2 separate regions of the Homo sapiens genome follow, and region 2 is linked to region 1. The links are contacts of gene promoters, found by promoter capture Hi-C in human tissues and cell types (Jung and others, 2019). All regions are on one chromosome and are shown on one strand. The core of a region is centred on a gene start or on the middle of the fragment in contact, and the rest is flanking DNA. Distances in the headings are between cores, read along the strand shown. Region 1 overlaps DNAI1 (dynein axonemal intermediate chain 1). Region 2 holds the start of CCL27 (C-C motif chemokine ligand 27).

Region 1 (6,552 bases), core at 2,489-4,988:
GATAAAGTCCCAAAAGTCCAATTTGCTTGGTATGGCCTTTGCCACCCTGCATGGTCTTGCCTTTGCTACCCATCCTACTTCAAACCTCACCATTTCTCTATGAAAATTCCACAATCCCAGCAAACTGAACTGCCCTCACTTCCTGGAAAGTGATATTCACACTGTTTATCTCCTCTAAGCTTTTGAAATCTTTTCTGTCTGTGTCTACTAGTCTACTCCACCCTACCCCAAATCTTTCCTTCATATCCTATTCATATTTCGGGTCTAAGCTTGGCCCTCATATTCTTCTACAAAGGATTAAGTCCCCTTTCTGGAGGCAGGATAGGGTGATATCCCCTCTAGACTATAAACTATGTTATGGTAAGGATCATGTCTGTCTTGTTCATTGTTGATTCCCCTCTACCTAGCACAATACCTGGAATATATTAAATTCTAAGAAAATGAGTTCAATATGAATTCTGAATGCCCTAAGTTGTTCTTGGAAATTATCATCTGAATGTGTTCGAAGGATGGGAAGGGGTGAAGCTGGGATGGGGAGACTTGTGGGGAATTATAACAAGGAAATGTAACTGTGTAAGTATGGTTTTCCAGGTACATGTTTGTATCTGCTTTGGCAGTAGGGCTATGAATGATTCAAATTTGAACCACAAGTATCCATGCCTTAAGAAATGGGTTTTGGAGACTAAGAGATAAAAATATTGATGTGTAAATATTCATGCAGTAATTATTTATCGTACCCACTCTGTGTTAGGTACTGTTCTAGGTATTGGTGATATAGCAAGAAACAAAACAAACAAAAATCCCTGCTCTCATGGAGCTTATTTTTTAGTTGGAGGTAAAGTGGCAATAAATAAATTTGTAAAATATATAGTATATTAGATGGTGATAGATGCCAAGAAGAAAACTAAATCAGAGAAGTAGACTAAGAAGTTCAGGGAATCACAAGATTATCATTTAAATAGGATGGACAGGGAAGGTGTTACAGAGGTGGCATATGAGCAAAGACCTGAAGGAAATGAAAGAGCTATGCAATACCCGGGGGTAGGGTGTGGGGTGAAGGGATGGGGATAGGGGAGGCATTCCAGACAGACGGCATAGCAAGTATAAAGTCCCTGAGATGGGAGCCTGCTACACATGTTCTGGATCAGCAAGGAAGGGAGTGGGGAATGTGGCAGGAGATAAGGTCAAAGAGGTACCTTCCCCTACCCTATAGAGTTAATCAAATAACCCATGGCATATTAAATTGGTCATTATGGAGCTCCATAAATCATAATTTGTAATTAAAATGCTTGAATGTCAGGAACCATAAACCATGACCAGCTCAAAACATCACTGGTAATGCCCCAATAGCAAAGCGTCCTTCCTGAAAATTGTGAGAGTGCCAACTGGCTGCATGTATACATGTACAGGAGGAGCTTTGCAGCGTTGCCAAACATTGCCTGGCAGCTAAACTTCTTAGTAGAAAACCGAATTAGAATCTTCTGTGAACTCCAGTTAAAAGCTAATTTTAGTTTATGACTAACAAATTTTAGTACCTCTTTATAACTCAGTTGGTTACCATAAAAAAAAAATCAAAGTCTGGAATTTTACATCATTCTCCTGTAAAAGCCAAAGAAAAGACTTTCATTTTGGATCATTTTGTGGTCTCTCAAGAGGCTCCTATGGTGCAATACTTTTAGAAATATTGATCTAGATTAGGGGTGACTAAGGTAGGAGTGAGTGGGCAGGGTTGGGCATAAGGCCAGAAGAGAGTCTTGGATGATTCAGAGATTTTGAGCCTGGTGATGGGGCCTGGTATCCACAGATGAAAAGATAGGAGGTGAACAGAATGTAGGGGAAGTTGATGTGTTTCTGTATGTCCAAAGTAAGATAGCTTCACTCCTGTGACCTCAGTGTCATTCTTACACATATATTCCTTAAGCCCTAGATATGATCTTTTACTCCCTTACCTCTTAAATATCTCTCAAATTAAACTACTTTTTTTCATATACACTGCCACCTCCCTAGCCCAGCTTACAATCGTCTCTCACCAAAGAGTGCTGTAAAAGCCTAGTAACTAGTCTTCCCTCATTCACTCGTGCCCTTTCCAGTCCATTCTCTACACTGCATGAAAAGTGATCTTTTCAAACTGTCAATCTGATTGTGCCATCCCCCACTCAGAACACTTCAGTGACTTCCCATTGCTCTTAGGATAGGGACCAGATTTTTAGACAATCGCTCCAGAGACCTGAATGGGCCTGAGACCTACCTGGGTCTCTATACCTTAATTTGTACCACTCTTCTCCATTATTGCTGTACCTTAGTTCTATGTGCTGCCCCCTTTCTGGAATGCTTTTCACACCCTCCCTCACACATGTACTCACTCCTAAGATTTCAGCCCCCAAATCAATCCCCACAACCTGCCCCCAATGCCCCCTGCCCCGTTATGGAAGGTAGGGTAAGTTTCCTCTGTTATATAGTCTCATTGCTCTGTGTTCCTTTCTTCCATAGCATGCATCACGGTTTGTAATTATTCACTTATTTGTGTAATTATTTGATTATTGTATGTCTCCCCCATTAGACTGTGAGCTCCTTGGGAGCAGGGCCTGTGGATGTTTTTGCTTATATCTGTATTCTCAGCCCCTAAAACAGTGGCCATGATGACGTCAGAAGCTCTTGATGAATGTTGAATGAGTGATCAACTGTGGTTGGGGAAGTAGCACAGGGTTCTATGGAAGCATGTGGTAGGGGGTCTTCATTCTGATTCTGGGGGAATTAGGGAAGACTTCTGGGGGGACCACCAGTATTTAAGGTTTGGATAGAAGAAGAAGAGTCCAAAATGGAGAATAAGAAGGAGTAATCAGAGAAGTAAGAAGACAACAAGGAAAAATAATATCCCAGAAGCCAAAGGAAGAATGTGTTTCAGTGAAACTGTATGGTCAGCCAAGTTGCATGTTGCTAAGGTGTCAATGAAGATAAACACTAAGATATAACTATTAGATTTAATAACTTGGAAGTTATTGGGGACCTTGGAAAGGACAATTTCAGAGTGAAAAGCTAAACTGAATTGAGCTAAGAAGGCAGTAAGAACTATGTAGGCAAAGATTGTTTTTTTAAGATGACAGACTTGAATATATTAAATGCTGAGGGGAAGGATCCTGAACGGAGAGAGAAGTTGAAGATAAAGGAGAAAGATTAAATAATGACTAGAGCCAAGTCTCTGAGGAGATGATGTTGTGGACAGGAGGAGGCACACTTTGTAACAGGACAGGAGAAGGGATGGATGCAGTTGATGATAATTTTGAGGTTTAGCAGCAGAAAGCTGAGACAGTTTTTTCTTCTTTTCCCCTAGTTGTGTTAATGGAATTCCTTCTGGAAGTGATAACTAGAAAACAATTTTTGCCAATGGCAGTTCCATTTTGTTATGATTATAGTCATGCTATTTTCAGAGTTATGGTCTGAGGTTTGTCATGCACAATTATCAGATTACAAAACAGCTGTGAGCATTTGAGGCCAGAATTTGTTTTCCTCCCCTGTGTACTAGGGGGCCTAGCACATTGTTAGCACTCAGTACATGCCAGGTACTCAAATAATAATGGCAGAGGGCTCCTGTGCTCGTTGCTGGGCTTTGCAGCCTGCAAGTTGATGCTGAGGAGTAATGTTGACTCTCTGGCTCCAGCTGTGAGCAAGCCACATGAAATTGTTTTCTGCCAGTTAGGAATTTGTATCAAGTGTTCAATCTTTGCAGTCACTGAGCACTGACAGAGTTGTATGCAAGAAGCAAGCAAAGGACACAGCTGTTGTAACTTTAGTTTCACTGGTTTGAGTCTCACAACGCTTTGTCCTACTCATAGAGTCACTGGATTCTGGTTTGTATGGTGGATTTATGTCCTCCATTTATCTCACCTCCTAGATTGAGAACCCTGGGTGTGAGAACCAACTCAATCTTGGTTCCTCTTTAGCCGTCATCCGAGGACCTGGCACATAGTAGATGCTTAATAAATGCTGAATGAATGAATAATGACTGAATGAGTTAGTTGATGAGTGAATAAATGAGTGATGGGAAGGTATGTACTGCACTACTCTGAACACTAACTTTTCTTTCTTGGCCTGCAGAAGAAGCAATTCATGCCTCCTTTATCCTAGTTAAAGCAGCCTAATCCTATTAATTATGTAGGGACCCTACCCCTAATGTTAAGCTTATTTTTCTACTTTTATTCTTACATCACATCCATTTGCTCATTTACTTATTTTCTCAATGTGTCATGTATTCAGCCTCAAATCTTATTTGGGAACAAACTGGAGTGTATATGGACAAAATAATCTGCTGCTCCTTGGAGAGTCATCTGCTTCTGTGCCTCTGTGTCTTTGTTAATTATTTTGTTCCCTCTGCATGGAATGCCCAAGTCTTCTCTTCTCTTTCTGCCCTTTACAGACCTGGCAAACTCTAAGACACATTACTTTAGTTAAGCTCTTTAAGTTACAAAGAACAGAGGCTCACTCAAGTTACCTCAGATAAAAGAGGATGAGAGAAGGGAGAAGGTATATATGTGGGGAGTTACAGATGGTTATTATAAGTACATAGATAACCTAGAATTGAAATTGGAAAACAATTAATTCTGAAACAGGTATAGGGACCAACTACTTTCTCCACATCTCTCACAGCCTCTCTATTTCTCTTAACAACTATGTTTCATTCTTATTCTTATTTCCCAACTGGCCAGATTTCCATGGTCTCCGCTCCCTCATAATTTTAGTCTGTTTCCAGCTTATCATAACTGTTCTGACCTCTCTACCTCACAAACATTTCCATGAATATCTCCATCCAACTGCTGGTTCTCCCTGTAGTCCTAGTTCAAATTCTTAAGGAGGGAATCTGATTGACCCTAGCTCATCTGTTCATGCTAGGCAATGTCAGCAAGGGACAAGATCCTATGGCTCTTTAAGCAACCAAAGCTAGAAGGAGGTATTCTCTTTGCTCAGCTCCTCCAGTGGAAGATATAACTCGCTTTACTCTAAAGTAACTTCCATATTGTTTCTGGTAAATCTCTTTCTCATGAATTGTGCGGGAAGGGGCCTCAGGGGCCTCAGATTTCTTCTAGTCCAATGCTTTCATTCAGGGCTGATATTTACATTACAAAAGGTCCTGTCCTTTACAAAAGCCTTTACTATAGGGTTTTAAAAATAGCACATTTCTGCAATGAATTTTAAAATACAGCACACAGGCCAGGCATGATGGCTCATGGCTGTAATCCTAGCACTTTGGGAGGCTGAGGCAGGAGGATCACTTGAGCCTAGGAGTTTGAGACCAGCCTGGACAACACAGCAAGACCCCATCTCTACACAAATACACACACACACACACACACACACACACACACACACACACACCACAAATTAGCCAGGTTGCATGCACCTGTAGTCCCAGCTACTCAGGAGGCTGAGGCGGGAGGATCCCTTGAGCCCAAGAGTTCAAGACTCCAGTGAGCTATGATTGTTACCACTGCACTCCAGCATGGGCAACAGAGTGAGAACCTGTCTCTAAAATAAATAAATAAATAAAATGCAGTATATATATAACCTTAAAGACCTTGATTTAGGGGATTTATATTCTGGCCATGGTGCAGAAATCTACACTGGACTTTCCCTCACACTGTAAACAGCAGTAAGCCTGGACACAATATATGACACTAATGTTTTTCGGTATTGGACAATAGACAACATAGGACAGTGATTCCTGAGGGAAGGAAAACACTCAACGTGAGTCACACATTTACCCTTGCTCTCTGCCTAAGGACAATTTCTTGATCATGGCTCAGAGAGGTAGATCCAAAGGAGAGCATGATAGTACCAGGGAGTAACACAGATGTTGGAATTAGCAGGCAATGTCTTTAAAGCAGCTGTTATAAATATATTTATGGACATAAAGGAAATATTGTTTTAATGGATGCACGGATGGAGAATCTAAGCAGAAAAATGGAAACAGTAGAAAAATACAATATCAGAAATAAAAAATTCGTTGGATAGGCCTAACAGCTGAATGTGAAGATGGATCCATGGAAATTATTTAATCTGAAGAACAGAGAGGAAGAAGGCTTTTTTTTTTTTGAGATGGCGTCTCGCTCTGTCTGCCAGGCTGGAATGCAGTGGCGCGATCTCGGCTCACTGCAAGCTCCTCCTTCCAGGTTCACGCCATTCTCCTGCCTCAGCCTCCCGAGTAGCTGGGACTAAGGCGCCCGCCACCACGCCTGGCTAATTTTTTTTTTTTTTTGTATTTTTAGTAGAGACGGGGTTTCACCATGTTAGCCAGGATGGTCTCGATCTCCTAACCTCCTGATCCACCAGTCTTGGCCTCCCAAAGTGCTGGGATTACAGGCGTGAGCCACCACGCCCGGCCAAGAAGGTTTTGTTTTGTTTTGTTTTGTTTTGTTTTTCTTGTAAAAAGAGAGCCTGGCTGGGCATGGTGGCTCATACCTATAATCCCAGCACTTTGGGAGGATGAGACGGGAGGATCACTTGAGCCCAGAAGTTTGAGACCAACCTGGGCAACATAAAAAAAACCTCGTCTCTACA
Region 2 (6,552 bases), core at 2,188-4,687, 200 kb after region 1:
GCCTAAAAATAACTCTTAGGAAAAGGAGTGCCTTTCACCTAGAGGCACATTCTCCTACAAACACTCATATACCCAGCTGAGGATAGCAGTGAATTTGTGTCTCAGGAGATGTTAAAGATTGGCTGGTATCAGGACTAGGGAGCAGCAGCATCAGATAATAACTAATATTTACTTAGTGCTGCCTGCCTGTGGGGTACCTGGCTACACTTTTTGCATACATTGTTTTGTTTAGGTAGATTCACCTCTATTTTACAAATGAAGAAACTGAGTCACAGAGAGGCCCAAAGGGTCATTCAATATGTGGTTCACCAAAGATTTGAACCCAGGCTGCCTGATGCCACAGCCTCTCTAAGTAATCACTACTGCCGTCTTACAAACACTAGGTGTAGACTCAGCTCCACCAGACACCCAACATGAGACCTAGACAGCTCCACTAGGCTTTAGGATGAGACTGGGAGCAAGGGGTGCTCTTTGTAGATGGTGGCTGGGAAGGCCCTGCACTTACAAGCTGGGTAACAGTGAGTCATGTTTACCCCCAGGTGGAGCCAGCTGGACTGGAGGAGGTGATCACAGATGCTGTGGCTGGGCTGCCCCATGCTGTACGAGTCAGTGCCCGGGACTTTCTAGATGCTGGCACCTGGAGCACCTGGAGCCCGGAGGCCTGGGGAACTCCGAGCACTGGTGAGAGACAAAGCCAAAGAAAAGGGCAGAGGCCCCATCCCAAAGCATCTATCAGCTGAACCAGTTCCAAAAGACAGGCAGGTGGCACATGCCCTGCCCACACAGGCACGGCAATTGCTGTCCCAGACTTCAGACTTGTTTGCCTACAGCCCTGTCTTAGCTTAAGTCCTGCCCCTTGGCCTCCACCCCTGCAGTTACAGGCTCCACTTCTACAAGCTTGGAGCTTGCCATGCTCCCTAGGAGCTGGCCATGCCCTATCAGGCTCCTCCTCCTAGGTACCTTGACTTCCAACCTAGGCCTTGGCCTTGAGCACAGGACGTGACCCCCGTCCCCACCAGCGTATGGACACTTATTGGGTCTTGCCTTCCTTTAGGGACCATACCAAAGGAGATACCAGCATGGGGCCAGCTACACACGCAGCCAGAGGTGGAGCCTCAGGTGGACAGCCCTGCTCCTCCAAGGCCCTCCCTCCAACCACACCCTCGGCTACTTGGTGAGCTTGGGCAGATGGGCAAGACTTGTAAAGGACTGAAAACCCCAGAGAAAAGGGGACACCGAGCTTGGTCAGGCTTGCTCTCAGTGACATGTGGCCCTCCCCCTCAGATCACAGGGACTCTGTGGAGCAGGTAGCTGTGCTGGCGTCTTTGGGAATCCTTTCTTTCCTGGGACTGGTGGCTGGGGCCCTGGCACTGGGGCTCTGGTAAGTGACTGCCATTGGTCCCTCAGCCTCTGATCCTCACACATGCTCTGATGCCCATAGACCACATTCATCTCCACCCTTCATGACTGCCCGCTGAACCTGTCTGATTCTGGAACTACCTCCCCATACCTCCATCCCCCATGCCCCACTTGATTTTAACTGATTCCTCTCCTGACCCTTTACTAATAAACCCTTTGGCGGAGACTGAGATAACCCACATTGTTGGAGAGACAGCTGCCTTTCTATGCCCCAGGCTGAGGCTGAGACGGGGTGGGAAGGATGGATCCCCAAAGCCTGGGTTCTTGGCCTCAGTGATTCCAGTGGACAGGCGTCCAGGTGAGTAGGACATCCAGAAGATTTGGACTTGGAGATGTTTGCCCCTATTTTGAGTGTCCAGATTAAGAGCTGGCTGCCCTAGTCATTTTAAAACATGCTGGGAATCCAAGTTGGGTCTCCTCATTTTAATGATGTCTAGGCTGAGGGCTGGGCCTTTCATTCTTGAGTCCCTGGGCTCAGAAGTGGGTCTCTTTCCCTCCTCTCAGGGTACTGAGGAAGGACCCCAGGTGGACTTCCCTTCAGGGTATTAGTATTAGTACTAATACTCTTCCAGGGTATTAGACTCAGAGCTGGATATTCATCCTTTTTTTTCAAGGTGTCTTGGATCAGTGCTAGGTCCCCTCCTTCATTCTTAATGTGCCTGGGCCCAGAGCTAGGTCCACTCCCGTATCTTCAGTGTGTTGAAGAGGCTCCCTCAGAGCTGGGCTCCTCTACTCATCTTCAGAGTGTTAAGCTTAGAACTGAGTCACCTCCCTCATTCTCAGGGTGTCTGGGCCAAGATCCGGTCTTACTGTCTCTCCTGATTTGCCTCCTGCTTCTTCTAGGAGCTCCAAACCTGTAGAGGACCCAGGAGGGCTTCGGCAGATTCCACCTATAATTCTGTCTTGCTGGTGTGGATAGAAACCAGGCAGGACAGTAGATCCCTATGGTTGGATCTCAGCTGGAAGTTCTGTTTGGAGCCCATTTCTGTGAGACCCTGTATTTCAAATTTGCAGCTGAAAGGTGCTTGTACCTCTGATTTCACCCCAGAGTTGGAGTTCTGCTCAAGGAACGTGTGTAATGTGTACATCTGTGTCCATGTGTGACCATGTGTCTGTGAGGCAGGGAACATGTATTCTCTGCATGCATGTATGTAGGTGCCTGGGGAGTGTGTGTGGGTCCTTGGCTCTTGGCCTTTCCCCTTGCAGGGGTTGTGCAGGTGTGAATAAAGAGAATAAGGAAGTTCTTGGAGATTATACTCAGAAATTATTATCCAATGCTGCTTTATTATTTGGCTATTGGGGGCTTCAGCCCATTTTCCTTAGCATCCCAAAATTCAGCTTGGGCAGAGTCCCATGGAGCTTTCTCTCTTGGTGCTCAAACCACTGTGACAGGCTGGGGTTCTGGGGGTGGATGCAGATGCTGCGTTGAGCCAGGTGAAGCCTGGGTAGAGAAAGGTCCAAAGCTATGACCATAGCTTGGGGATGAGATTAGGGTCATCCCCAATGACCCTAATTAGGGGTTAGGAGCAAGGACCAGATGAAAACCTGAGTTGGCAACAGAATTAGCAGTTAGGGCTGGGGTTGGGATCAGCATTAGGGGTTGGGACTGAGGTCAGAGTCAGGGGTATCAGGGGTGGGAGCTCACACGAAAGCCTGGAGGTGACAGTCCCCGTCAGCCTCCTGCAGTTCCACCTGGATGACCTTCCTCAGTAGCTTGTCTGAGAGTGGCTTTCGGTAGAGCTGAGTACAGCAGGCAGTGCTGGGTGGCAGTAGGAATGCTAGGGGCAACAGGGCCATGTGTTCAGAGGGATCCTGACCAAGAACCTCTCTGCCAGACAGCTGGAGGTTAGGTTGGATTTCCTGGGTCTTTTCAACTTCATCCCATTCACCCAGACCCCCAGCTTTCTATACCCCCAAGTACTCACCTGCTGTAGGGTCTGGGCTCAGGAGCAATGACAGCAGCAGGAGGCTGCAGAAGGTTGGGGGCCCCTTCATGTTGCTCAGCCTAGACTCTTCCTTCTCTCTCTCTCCTCCTCCCCTACCTTTTATCTGGGTGCCTTTTACCTGGGGCACTAGGTGAGTCAGAGGCAGTTGGAGATGTACTGTGTAACCTGTGACACTCCTGGGCCCTAATTCTCGGCCTGTTGCCACAGACTCCTTCCTCATCTAGGATAGCCATTTCCCATGTGCTCCTAAGCTCTGGGCAGTGAAGCTGGGGGAAGGATTAGTGTGTGATGTAGGGACTGATGGAACAGTGAGTAAGGGCAGTCAAGCATCCACAGCAGCATCTAATGATAGACATTCACACTCAAATACGCATAGCCACACATTCAAAGTCACTCCTCAATCACTTGGTCAACCTCACAAAGTCATACTCATGATCAGACAACCGTAGACAAAATTATATAGCCCCGGTTATACTCAAAGTCCCTCTCCCACCCAATTGTGTTTTCACAGTCATCCAATCACAAGCAAATTCACACTAGCACACACAGATTCTGACAGGGGAGTTGTGGGTGGGGTGGGAGCAGAGGGCAGGCAAGCACCAACTTGCCTTCACCTTCTCCTCCCCACTTCCTGGCTTGGCCTGCCTGTCTTATCAGAAGAAATGGATGGGAATGGGTCCCTAGAGCAGGCCCTTCTGGCTGAGGAGGGTTCTTGGCTGAGGCCAGCCCCATTCAGAGAAGCTGGGGGAAGGCCCTTTATGGTAATATTAAGGGTGTTTTGGAGATGCTGAGGTGGGGCAGCTTTCCCCAGGATGATGAGACAGGGAGGAAAGGTGGGGTAGATAAGGAGGGAAGATAAAAGCTCTTTGGTGCTAGGTTACTGTTGTCAAAACAGGTAAAAGGCCCAGTGAATCTTACCTTCCTGTTTTTGTCTAGTCCTGTTCCAGGAATGCCAACCTCTTGCCAGCAGGGGCCTAGGGTCTCCAGATCCAGTCCCTGACTTGTTGAAGACATTGGACTCAAGCACTCAATTACATCTTTGTTTTACTCAAATTCCAGCCTCCTTCCTGGGCCTGGAGGAACATCCCCTCTCCCTACCCGGGTTCAGTCACACCCTCATGTCCAACTGCTATACCCCCTGCATCCCACCCTCCAGCTATAGCCGCTTCTCTCCTAATCCCATACCCAGCTGTCACTCCGTTCTTTACCCCCTCCCTGCAATGCAAAGCTCCTATTCATCTTTATCCAGTCCTTTCCAGGAAGCTGGGAGCTGCCTAGGGTGGGGGTATGCTGCCAAGTTCAGTGCCCCTGGCTCCTTTAAGAATTTCCCACTCCTGGTCCAGGGATCTCAATCTGCAAGTCCTGCTCTATATTTGAAACATAAACCAAGTCATAACACAGTAATCCAGCCCTTATCTTGTTGCAGTCGTCTGCTGTAGGGTCAGCCACTCTCTATGGAGTAGGCTTTCTCTTGGGATAGGGCTTAGGCCTTTCTCTTGTGTCCCAAGGCTTGTTGGGTGTAGCCACTGAGGAAATCCCAAGGAAATCTCCCAGGTTCCTCGGGCTTGTCATAGACCTTCTTCATCACTTGGCTGTGCGCTACATACTTTCTGGTCTTCCCTGGGCTTGTCGGTCCAGAAGTCTTCGGAAGGCAGAAAACAAATGCTTTTGGGTGTGCACCCATCTCTCCCCTTTAAGACCAAGTCTTCTCCCCAGCCACAATCTGCTGTAGCTTTGGCCCCAGCCAGAAACTGGGCCATCTCTTTCTTTAACTTAATCTTGTGGTGCCCTTTCTGGTGCTGGGTCCAGTCCCTAACTGAAGGCAGGCCCACATAGCAGTCCCTGATTCTCACCACTTGAGGAGTTAGTGGGTCCCAGGCTGATTGGGTGACAGAAGGGGGCGGCAAAGAGCAGTGGCCCTTGGACTCTCCTAGGGAGGGAGCAAGAACTTCTAGGTAGGCTGATGCCAAGGATCTCTAAACTTGGGATCAGACTGGAGGAGCCAAAAGTTGGGGTATGAACTGTAGGAAAGGTCGCCAACCCAAGTCGCTCCTCTGTGGCAGGCAGCTTCTAGGAATCTCCCCCTCTTACCATTTACAGCCTGCATCCTACACCTCTGCTTAAAATGTTTTAGATATACTCCCAGCAGAGAAGATTCTTCAGACAGCTGGCAAAGTCCTCGCTCCGAGGAAGGGAGTAACAGGCAGGATTATTTAGTTCTCTTCATATAGGCGACTCACAGTATGGGTTTTTGGGGGTTGGGATTGGGGGAGACAGCCATTGATAGTAACAGGAGGCCTGACACTGATGAGGGGCTTTGACGTGGAAGGGCACCCTTCCAGGGAGGGACGCCCTGTCAGTACGGAACAGAGCCCGTGTGGGGAGGGGCGCTCGGCTCGAATGGCGACAGCGGCGGCAGAGTCAGGAGGTCAGTACGGTGGGCTTCGGTTTAAATCTTTAATGCACTGGCTGGCTGGGCAGCGGCGGTGGGGCTGCGGCGGGGGAAGCCACGACCCGAGCGCTGGGGAGTAGGACCCAGGCCGCTGGACAGACAGCTCATCAGGCCTCGCAGAGGCTCCAGCTTCTGCTCCCCGGGGTGCGCCGAGCTGTGGGGCGACCCGACACTGGCATGAGGCGGGGCGGGAGCTACCGGATTCCCCCCGATGGGTCCTCAGAGACTGAGTCCCGTCCATGCCCGGGGCGGGTCCGCGGTATCGCAGCCTCCTCACCTCCGCTCCCTCCGCCACATGCGAAGCCAGGGGAAAAAGTAGAAACAGCCCCAGTAGATCCTGCAGAGAGAGGGCAGAGCCGGGCGGGGCGGGGCGGGGCGGGGAGGAGCTGACCCTACAGACTCCGCCCCGCGGTGCCTCGCCGTCGAGGAAGGCTCCGCCCCGCCTCTAAAAGCGGCTCCCTTCGCGCCCACGCCCCTGGGAGGCTCGCCCTGCCCACCCCTCGCCCCCGCAGAACTCCACCCTCCCCCACCCCGGAGCCGCCTGGTTCCTCCTCCGCAGAACCCGCCTCCACTCACTCCTCCTCCGCCTCCAGCGCCACCTCGTATCTCCTCATTCCCGACATGTCCTGGGCTCCGAACGTCTCCTGGGGAGCGGCATGATTGAATCAGGGATTCCCTAGCCCCAGGTCCCCTTCTCCGTCATTCTCAGGACGAGGCTGCCCAGTTCTCAGGTAA

Evidence for each region. The method cuts DNA at HindIII sites, captures the fragments that hold promoters and counts their contacts. A contact is called where the count stands out against the background at its distance.
Region 2: the fragment with the promoter of CCL27 here is called in contact with a fragment that was not itself captured in region 1 in 1 of the 25 tissues and cell types used here (mesenchymal stem cells).

The regions. Positions count from the first base shown.
Region 1 is chr9:34,462,113-34,468,664 of GRCh38, forward strand. All of the region lies in intron 1 of DNAI1 (dynein axonemal intermediate chain 1), which reads left to right. Among named protein-coding and RNA genes, the nearest start is that of DNAI1, 6.6 kb to the left of the region's middle. The HindIII fragment of the contact is 7,861 bases long and covers 1-6,552 here.
Region 2 is chr9:34,659,220-34,665,771 of GRCh38, forward strand. CCL27 (C-C motif chemokine ligand 27) reads right to left here and starts at 3,438. Exons shown (of 3, transcript NM_006664.4): 1 at 3,345-3,438; 2 at 3,065-3,197; 3 at 2,671-2,860. The coding sequence starts at 3,414. The coding sequence ends at 2,725. IL11RA (interleukin 11 receptor subunit alpha) reads left to right here. Exons shown (of 13, transcript NM_001142784.3): 9 at 540-681; 10 at 1,055-1,174; 11 at 1,285-1,381; 12 at 1,635-1,717; 13 at 2,263-2,683. The coding sequence ends at 2,279. It overlaps LOC730098, which reads right to left. Exons shown (of 3, transcript NM_001320038.2): 1 at 6,394-6,552; 2 at 6,095-6,154; 3 at 4,944-5,971. The coding sequence starts at 6,440. The coding sequence ends at 5,815. It also overlaps a transcript of PHF24 not described here. RefSeq lists an enhancer at 409-910 and a silencer at 6,151-6,400. The HindIII fragment of the contact is 14,352 bases long and covers 1,535-6,552 here.